2 separate regions of the Homo sapiens genome follow, and region 2 is linked to region 1. Evidence: promoter capture Hi-C in human tissues and cell types (Jung and others, 2019). All regions are on one chromosome and are shown on one strand. Each heading gives the region's core, a stretch centred on a gene start or on the middle of the fragment in contact. The rest is flanking DNA. Distances are from core to core; before and after follow the strand shown.

Region 1 (4,752 bases), core at 2,033-4,532:
AAGTTTCTTGGAAATGAGATAAGTTTGTGCTTAACCAGGGAAAAAAATGTGTGACAAAATTTGAAAGATATTCTACTGGTTACCCATGCATTTTAGCTGTAGTGAGAAGGAAAGAAGGGTACTCTGTCTCCATCCCTCACCTTCCAGAGCTCTGGAAATCACAGCACATGTGGGAAAGGCCTCTGGTCCTCTAGGTAAACCTTGAGTTCTTTGTTTGAGACGGAGTCTTGTTCTGTCGCCCAGGCAGGAGTGCAGTGGCGCAGTCTCACTGCAACCCCCACCTCCCGGGTTCAAGCGATACTTGTGCCTCAGCCTCCCAGGAATCTGGGACTACAGGCATATGCCAGCACGCCCGGCTAATTTTTGTATTTTAAATTAGCCAGGCGTGGTAGAAACCCCGAAGAGACGGGGTTTCACCATGTTGGCCAGACTTGTCTTGAACTCCTGACCTCAAGTGATCTGCCCGCCTTGGCCTCCCAAAGTGCTGGGATTACAGGTGTGAGCCACCGCGTCTGGCCTGAATTCTCTTGAAAGCTAAAATGAAATTCTTTTCCCTGCTCCCACTTTCTGTGATACTGGGCAAGTCACTTCACTTTCCTTAGTGGATCTGTTTCCTCATCTCTGAAATTGTAGATGCGCCGCACTATCTGATGGTTCCCTTCAACTTTGAAGTTCCATGATGCAAAAATAATGGATGAGAAGTCTTGTGGGGAAAGTGTGGAGCATCACACAGATGGTCAGCCTTCCTCAAGTACAAGTGGCGCCCGGCCTGCTTATCCATGGATCACAGACCATTCCTCTTGAACGGTGCAAAGTAACACTGAGGTGGGCGGGGCAGTGGGTGTGTAGGGCATGAAGGAGGCAGACACAGCACACCCCTAGACTTTTCCTGCTACCTCGTGGCTGATACAGTATGACATGGCTGACGTGTGTCCCTTCATTGAGGGCAACTCCAAAGCCTTCATTTCTAATGATTTTGAGGTAATCTCATTATTTCAGCTGCCATTGCTGTGGAGACATCTTCACATTAACATCTTGGCTACTAAACATTTTCAGCAGCCTAAAGGCATGTAGCAATGCCATGGAAGTCACTTCGTTACTCCTAAACCAAACCCCACATTATTTTTTACTCATCTCAAGCCAAGTCTTGTTTCCTAATTTCTGTTTTGGCATTAGTTCTGGCCCACTCTCTGCTACAGAACCCTTTGTCCTCTTTTCTTTGCATTTCATAACCACCATGAAGTACCACTGATTTTGTCTTCTAAATTTGTTCCCCCTCATTCCTACTCTAACAGTCCTACCCAGGGCCTCATTCCAGCTACTCCCCCACCATCAGCCATTTATCTTCTCAACTTCAGTTCATTTTGCACATTCATCTCAGATTAATATTCCCAAAATGCCTTACCCTGTGGCTATCCCACTGTTTACCATAAACTTTTGTGTGTATGTGAGGTTTTCTATGACTTCTGGCCCTAGCAACTTTGTATCTGCTATTAGTCACTAGAGCTTCCTCTATTTTTAAATTTATTCACTCTACATGTGTGCATCGCCTCCAGCTGTCCTCCATACTGGACTGTTCTTCCTTCTGAGCCATCTGCAAGACACGTATCTCCAAAGTCCAGCTCTCACGATCTATGATGAGCCTTTCCTAATCCAGTATGTATATCTTTGCACTGAGTTCTTTGCCATATCTTTTAAATATGAAATCATTCTATTTTGTCCTATTCATCAGTCTCAGAATTGATTGTTGAATGTTCCCAACATGTACTTTCATCTCTTTACTAAGATATATATTAATTTCTTTGTGGTGAGGAAATTGGCCACTAGAGAGGGCTTTCAAATGTGCAAGTCTCCCTTTGGCCCAGGCACAGCTAATCTGAGCACGTCAATGCCACACATCCTTGCCTTCAAAGAGTAATTGGGCCAGGGGTGGGCCCATGACTTAATACCAGCCAGTGAGGTTCATTATGGGGATTTTTGCTGGAACGATTAGAAAGAAAAGAGGTACTATTTTTCCTGGGTTTGCTAGATGGGGACAGTGAAAGTGTGGTGCCTTCCTTCATACCACTAGAGAAGTCCATCTACCACCAAGGAAAATGAGGCTAATCTCAGGAAAAGCAGAATCAAAACAAGGAGGATGAGAGCCCCAAAATTATTATTTGGGTAATTGAATTCACTAGTTTAAAGTCCCTGGACTTTTCAGTTACACAAGCCAATATATTACCTTTTGCAATATTCAGTTTAAGTGAGTTCTGACAAATACAATGGTGTACAAGAATAATGACGTATTAATGATACATGGAAAAAAGCAACACAAAAATTTTAAATATAGTAACGATCCCAGTTTTGTAAAACACTTATTAAAAAATGCAGTAGGCCTATAATGCCAGCACTTTGGGAGGCTGAGGTGGGAGGATCACCTGAGCCCAGGAGTTCAACACCAGCCTGGCCAACATCGTGAAACCCCGTCTCTACTAAAAATACAAAAATTAGCCGGGCGTGGTGGTGTGTGTCTGTAGTCCCAGCTACTCAGGAGGCTGAGGCAGGAGGATCACCTGAGCCCACGAGGTGGAGGCTACAAGGAGCTGTGATCACGCCACTGCACTCCACCCCGGGTGACAGAGCAAGACCCTGTCTCAAAAAAAAAAAAAAAAAAAAAAAAAGCAGCAGAATAGAAACAATGATGACAGTTAAATGGTGAGATGAGAGTGAGAAACGCTGAATTTAATTTTATTCTGTATGTTTCACAAAGATGTCAGGGTCTGGGATTTTATCCAATTTACCATACTCCACCAAATCAACTGGTAGGATCTCCGTGAAACAGTAACAGGGTCATTTAGAAACCTGTTGCTGCCTCATGAAAATCCTATGAACTCTCCTTGGTTCCCCGGTGATACTGTCTGGCAAGGCCCCTTATCTCTCCAACTCATGTCACACCTTGGCTCCAGTTCTCATTTCTCAGGGGTGCGTGTTTGCTGCCGCCCACTCCATCCTCGCGTCCCACGCCCTCGCGATTCCTGCTCATCCTAGGGGCGCCAGCTTCGCTGGAGGACGCCGCGCTCTGCGGGTCCCCGCCTCGGTTCCAGGCCCAGCTGCAGGTGCCACCCAGGTTTCAGGCGCTGAGGAGCGGAGAGCACTGCCAGCTCGCTGGGGTCCCCGCTGTCTCTGGCAAGCGGCTCCGCGCCGGGTGGGCTGGGGCGGCGGGGCGGGCGCAGCTGCTTCCCCGCCCCGGGGCGGCACCCGCGCTCGGGGCTGGCGGCTCCTCCCCGCCCGGCCGGGCCCAGCAGCCCCTAGGAGCCCAGCGCCGCCGCCATGTCCTCCGGGGCTAGCGCGAGCGCCCTGCAGCGCTTGGTAGAGCAGCTCAAGTTGGAGGCTGGCGTGGAGAGGATCAAGGTGCGGGCCCCGGGTACCCACGCTCCGGTCCTTCCGCCCGCGGGGCGTGAGAAGAGGAGGCCGGCGGCCCGGACCGGGCGCCAGCGGGGGACTCGGTGGCGGCGGCGAGGCCTCGGCGGGGCGCGGGGGCGGTGGGGTCCGCGGTGAGGGAGGGCGCGGGGCAAGCCGGGGGCCCGGGCCTGACGGGAGGAAGCCGCGCCTGGGGGGCCCCGCGGTCGTGGTCGGTCCCGGTCCCTGGGGGTGCGCCCACTCCAGAAGGCGGCCGTGGTCAGTTCCTCGGAGGGCGCAAGGGATGCCGGCGACGCGCGGGCCGGGAGGGTGGACCCAGGGCTGGGGAGGCCACCGCAGGGCGGCGAATTGGTGATGGATTGGTAGGATGAGAGCGAGAGGGAGGAGAGCCAGGATGCTCGGGTTTCTGTCGTCGTGACAGGGTGGACGGCGCTGCCACCCGCCGAGGTAGAGAGGAGGGGGAACAGGTTTGGGGAAATGATGAGTTCGGCTGCGGACCTGGGGACTCCGGGGAGTCATCCGGGAGGTATTTGTCCTCATGGCCTGAAGCTCAGCGCCCAGGGCTGAAAGAGGTCATTCAAGTGCATTGGGGCGAAAAAGCCTCTTCTATGAAGAGCAGAGCTCAGAGCCTGGGACCCGGGGACCAGCCACACCGATGGCCGGTGGCCGAGAGAAGAGGAAATAAGAGACAGCAAGGTTTCCGAGCAAGGCCTAGAGAAGAGGAAATAAGAGACAGCAAGGTTTCCGAGCAAGGAAGTAGGGATTTCCAAAAACTGGGGGCTCAGTCAACATGTCCAGCGTTTAGTCAGTTGGCTAAAAGGCGTCTGTTGTAGAGCTGTGTTTAGCTACGAGTGCAGCATTATTTGCAGAAGATCTGTAAGAAGGAACACAACCAGGATAGTCCCTGTGCCTCAGTTTCTCCTTTGCTGTGTGCCTGGCACTGCTACAGGGAATAGGGTGGTTCTGGAGGGGAAGGTAAACAGCAACTTAACGGATACATAGCATCGCTTCATGTACTAAGTGGAGTGAAGATAATAAACAGGGTAAAGGGAGAGAGGGCTGTGGAATGCAGAGGTCTGGTGGCTTATGTGTTAGTAAAAGCAGAATCTGGACTGTCATAGGGTAGGCAGACGTTTTTTCTTTTTAAAGAAACCTAGTTTTAAAGAGGAAATAACGTGTTTTTTTAACTTAGGAAATGAAAAGCCATGTTTTAGGGTTGAGAGGAAGTAACAAATTATATTTTTAGGTTCCAGGGAAGAAACAAATGGAAGCCAATTGCTGGTAGAGGAGACAGGGCTACGGGGGGGTGGGGGATTGGTGGCACAGCTTCTGAGACAGGAAGAAAGAAGG
Region 2 (5,269 bases), core at 179-2,678, 280 kb after region 1:
GATGCTTATAAAGGAAACCCCAGAGAGCTTTCTTGCCTCTTCCGCCATGTGAGGATACGGCAAAAAGGTGACCAGCTATGAACCAGAAAGTCAGCTTTTACTAGCCACTAAATCTGCCAGGGCCTTGATCTTAAACATTCCAGCCTCCAAAACTGAGAAAGTTTTGTTGTTTATAACCCACCCAGTCTATGGTATTCTGTTATCGGAGCCGTAAGACACAGTCTAAAAGGGATCTGGCCCAGTAAACAAACATTCCTTCTCATTTGTGTACTTCTAACCCTACAGTTTAAGAAATGATCAACACAAAGTTGAGTATGTCTTAGAATTTCATAGCTAGGTGGATCTTGAGGATCCCTCACCCTTATTTTAGAATGAAGAAGCTGAGACACCCACGGTGAGAGCTGTGATCATAGGGTTAGGTAGGCATGGTGCTGGTGGCAGAGCTGGGAGTAGCCCCTCTATCTGGTCCCAGTGTGGTATATTTCTCCGCTGGACCACATTTAAATTTATGCTTACACTGGCTTGAAAATTTACCTAGACCTTAAGGGGGAAAAATATCACAGTTTTAATAACCATCTGTATCCTAACTCAAAAATTGTTCTAGAGAACCAGATTCAAACCTGTAGAACAAGAATGTAAATTACTATAAAGCTCATTTAAAGTGAAATGCTTTACATACATGATTGATAAGATTGATGCATACCACAAGACTGTGTTCATGAGAATGGAAATAGTTCAGACCTTTCCTTCTGAAGTTTATCAGGATCTAGTGCTTGAGTTATTTATTTATTCATTTCAAGTTATAGTTTACGACCATATCAAGTTCATTTCGGTGAAAAGAAAGCAAACCGCAAAATGGTGAGTACCTGTCTCTGCAGAGCTGCAAGGATATGTGTTTAGTTGGGTAATTTGCTTTAAAAATATTGATACCTAGAAAAAAGTTTAAAATCACTATCCTAGTATTTTCTAAAAACAAAAATACATATCTTTAAGAGATCCCTAAGCAGCTAGTTTCCTAAGAACCAAAATGTGCTAAGCCTTTCACATGGCCCCTCCTCAGTTCCGAGAGAAATTGGCAGAGACTGTGGGTGTCTGGAATGGTTTCATGTGGTTGTGCTGTTTAGACTAATCATCATTAAGACATCCATGCTAATAGCATGGACTTGTAATTATCTAATTTAAGCAATTTAGGGATATCATTTATTCTTCTACAGGACTGAGAGTATCTGCACCCCTCCTCTGCTGCCTGCACACCCCATTGCGGTCATGCCACCTTTGTTTCCCAACCCTTGTCACCAGATGTGAAACCTCTATCATTTCCCCTCATGACTGACGGACACCAGGCCAGCCTAAGGAACATGCTGGAGAAATCCAGCAGACTATTTATTGTGCAGCTCTGGAGCAGGGGAAAGGAATGGGTTAGAAGTGGTGACTTGGGAGTAATTTCCCTAGAGGTGATGGCTGAGACAGTGACTATAACTAAAGTCAAAGTGCCATTTAGAGAGACAATGGAAGAAAAACATCTAGGAAAAGAGGCTGCCAAACCTGGGGTCCAAATGGGCTTTTTGGTAGCTATGGGACTTTAGGAAGCTTCCTTCATCTTTCTGAGCCAAGCTTTCTTAACCATGTAGAATGGAGATACTAAAGCACCTGAGGTGGTAGAGATGATTCGATGAGGTCATGTACATGAGCATAGGGACAGTTAGTGCCTTTTTCCTCCCAAAGAAGAAAGAAATAGTAAAAGGAGTGCCACAGTAGCCTTGGAAAGAGAGATTTCAAGAAGGAAGTGGTCACGGGAGGGGCCGTTGACCGTAAAGGATGAGAAGAGGCTGGTGAACTCTGGGGCAGGAAACTCCCTGTAGAGTTGCCAGCGTGGGTCTCCGCCATAGTGAATTGTCTCAGACGTTGATAGATGAAGTGTCTGCGTGGGAGTAATACAGCTTCTTTATGAACGATTTTTCTTGTTTTACACAGTGATATATTTTCTACAGTGAGAGACAAAGGGGTGGGACTTTCAAAGACAGAAATTGCTCCTGACCCTGAGAGCACCCATATGACTCTGATGCCAAGGAAACAGTTTAAGAAAGGCAGCTCCCAGGAAGCCAGTTCATCAGAGTGGAAGAAGCAGAAGTCAGATGCTTTAGGTTTGGCTGCGTGTGAAAAAGACATGAAAGCGATGGGCACAGATATTTGGAAACTGCAACAACGATGCATTTCCACCCAAGGTCCCAGTAATACTAAGCCAAAAAACTAAGCCTGACTTGAATTTGTGAGAAATGTCCTAAGAAGTTGGGTCATTAAGAGACGATGAAGGGGAATTGTCCATCCCCATCTTCCAGTCTCCTGACTTTATCCTAGACTGTCTCCCAACAGCATAATCGGCATCCCGGAAGCAGCTGTGGGCACCCTAGCCCTGCCCACAGTCTGCCCTTTTTCATTTTGTTCTGATTCGCTTATTTTTGGTTATATTGCTTGTTTTACTTCCTGCTTTGTCTCTACATTGACTTGGAGCTTGACTTCTGACTTCAGCTTCTTCCTCTGACCCCATGTTCCTCAGCCTTACTCCAAGCCCAGGAAAAGGTGGTCCTTAATTTTCTATTCTCATTTCACATCACCATCTCTCCAGCCTGAGCTCTCCACCCCCAACCCAATGGCTCACTCTCACCAGCCGACCCTTTTCCGTGTGGAACCAGAGCTTCCTTGCTCCCATGCTGTTTCCTTGCCCTGAAAGTTTCTCTCCCTTCATCCTCACTTTCCCTGTCTATGGGGATACTCTCCTTCTTTATTGTTGGTTTTTTTGTTTTATTGTTTTTTGAGACAGAGTGTCACTCTGTCACCCACCTGGAGTGCAGTGGCGCAATCTCTGCTCACTGCAGCCTCCACCTCCTGTGTTCAAGCGATTCTTGTGCCTCCGACTCCTGAGTAGCTGGGATTACAGGCGTGCACCACTACATCCAGCTAATTTTTGTATTTTTAAGGGGTTTCACCATGTTAGCCAGGCTGGTCTCAAACTCCTGTCCTCAAGTGATTCGCTTGCCTCGGCCTCCCAAAGTGCTGGGATTACAGGCGTGAACCACCGCACCTGGTCAACATACTCTCCTTTAAACCTCAACTCACATTCAATTCAGGACCTTTCCAGAGTTGTGTGTGCCCACATTTTGTCCCTTTCATTTTGTCAGGCATTTCACTTACGTGTCTGCAGGTCATTTCCAGTTTTCAGGGGCCTGGACTTTGCATATCTTAGTAGTCCTTTTTTGTGCTTTTTTCTCTTTGTACCCTTCCCTCCAGTGCATTCATGTAATAGTCACTCGGGAAAGGTCTATTGTTGACAGTCAAGCCAGAATCAAAACATTAATTCTGGCACATATGTCATTTAATACCTTTCCACCCTCTCATTGTGTTAGTAAGGTGTTTGCTATTTCATGCTCCCAACCCCCCCACCCTCACCCTACTAAAACAAAAGATTTCTCTACACATGAGTAAAATACTAAAATTTTATTTTCCCCTTCTAGAATCTTCTAGTTCTGGTTTTGGGTTTTTGTTGTTGTTTTTGTTTGCTTTTTGTTTTTTGAGACAGAACCTGCCTCTGTCGCCCAGGCTGGAGTGCAGTGATGTGATCTTGGCTCACTGCAACCTCCGCCTACCGGGTTCAAGCGATTCTCCTGCCTCAGCCTCCTGAGTAGCTGGGATTACAGGTGCACATCACCACGCTTGGCTAATTTTTGTATTTTTAGTAGAGACGGGGATCACCATGTTGGTCAGGCTGGTCTCGAACTCGTGATCTTGTGATCCGCCCTCCTCGGCCTCCCAAAGTGCTGGGATTACAGGCCTAAGCCCCTGCGCCCGGCCTGTTTTTTTCCTTAAACTTTGAGAAGCTAGCAGTTTTTGGAAGGAATCAAGAGGTGACCCTGTCAAGTCTATCTTATCAACATCCTACAAGCCCATTGATTCTTGTTGTGTTTTATTTTCTTTAAGTTACACATTGGTTTTGGATCATAAAAATAGTACATATTTACTATAAACCTGAAACATAAGAAATGAACAAAAGCCCTTCTAGGTAGATACTCAAGAGAACTGGAAACAAAACGTCCACATAAAAACTTGAATGTTCATAGCAGCATTATTCATAATAGCCAAAAGGTGGAAACAACCCAAATGTCCATCAACTGATGAATGTACAGACAAAACTTGATCATATACAGACAATGGGATATTATTTATCCCTAAAAAACAAAGGAACAGCCGGACCCAGTGGCTCACGCATGTAATCCCAACACTTTGGGAGGCCTAGGCGGGCAGATCACTTGAGGTCAGGAGTTTGAGACCAGCCTGGCCAACATGGTAAAACCCTGTCTCTACTAAAAACACAAAAATTAGATGGATGTAGTGCCACGCGCCTGTGATCCCAGCTACTCAGGAGGCTGAGGCACGAGAATCGCTTGAACCCAGGAGGAGGTGGAGGTTGCAGTGAGCCGAGATCACACCACTGCACTCCAGCCTGGGCAACAGAGTGAGACTCTTGTCTCAAAAAAAAAAAAAAGAAAAGAAAAAAGAAAAAGAAATGAAGTATTGGTGCATGCCACAACATGGACGAACCTTGGAAATGTTAAGTGAAAGAAGTTGGATACAAAAGGCCTCATAGTGTATGATTGCGTTTGTATGAAATGTCTAGACCAGGCAAATCCATAGAGACAGGAAGTAGATTAGTGGTTGCCATGGGCTAGGGGATGGGAGGAATGAGGCATGGCTACTAACAGTGGTCATTACTAACAGGGTTTCTTTTGGGGTGATAAGAATGTTTGCAAAGGAAAAATAAATATCACTCTCAATGTATTATTTCCTTCCCACATTCTGGCACATACTGCTGAAGTGCTTTCCAGAGAAGGTGTGTGCGTTTCTCATTACTTGTCATCCTTGTTAGGAGTCAGAATAGCTATTTTCTAAATCTTTCTAAATTTGACAGATGAAAATGTACATCATTCTTTAAATATATGGCTTTTTAATGGCTGGTAAGATCGAGTATTTTTGTATGTATGATTTTTATCATTTATTCATTGGATTTTCTTCCACTTCTTAATCTTATTTATTTATTTATTTATTTATTTATATTTATTTATTTATTTAGAGACCGAGTCTCGCTCTGTTGCCCAATGTGGAGTGCAGTGGTGCGATCTCGGCTGACTGCAACCTCCACCTCCCAGGTTCAAGTGATTCTCCTGCCTCAGTCTCCCAAGTAGCTGGGATTACAGGCACCCACCACCATGCCCGT

The links. Contacts are between HindIII fragments. The study calls those that stand out against the background at their distance.
Region 2: a fragment that was not itself captured here is called in contact with the fragment with the promoter of GNG10 in region 1 in 1 of the 25 tissues and cell types used here (aorta).

What each region holds. Positions count from the first base shown.
Region 1 is chr9:111,658,323-111,663,074 of GRCh38, forward strand. GNG10 (G protein subunit gamma 10) reads left to right here and starts at 3,283. Exons shown (of 3, transcript NM_001017998.4): 1 at 3,283-3,393. The coding sequence starts at 3,313. The region is part of intron 1 of DNAJC25-GNG10 (DNAJC25-GNG10 readthrough); the gene reads left to right. RefSeq lists enhancers at 2,864-2,923, 3,994-4,093, 4,294-4,343 and silencers at 3,104-3,553, 3,584-3,703. The HindIII fragment of the contact is 18,619 bases long and covers 1-4,752 here.
Region 2 is chr9:111,936,177-111,941,445 of GRCh38, forward strand. No RefSeq gene overlaps it. Among named protein-coding and RNA genes, the nearest start is that of MIR4668, 6.7 kb to the left of the region's middle. RefSeq lists an enhancer at 1,709-2,018. The HindIII fragment of the contact is 5,345 bases long and covers 1-4,101 here.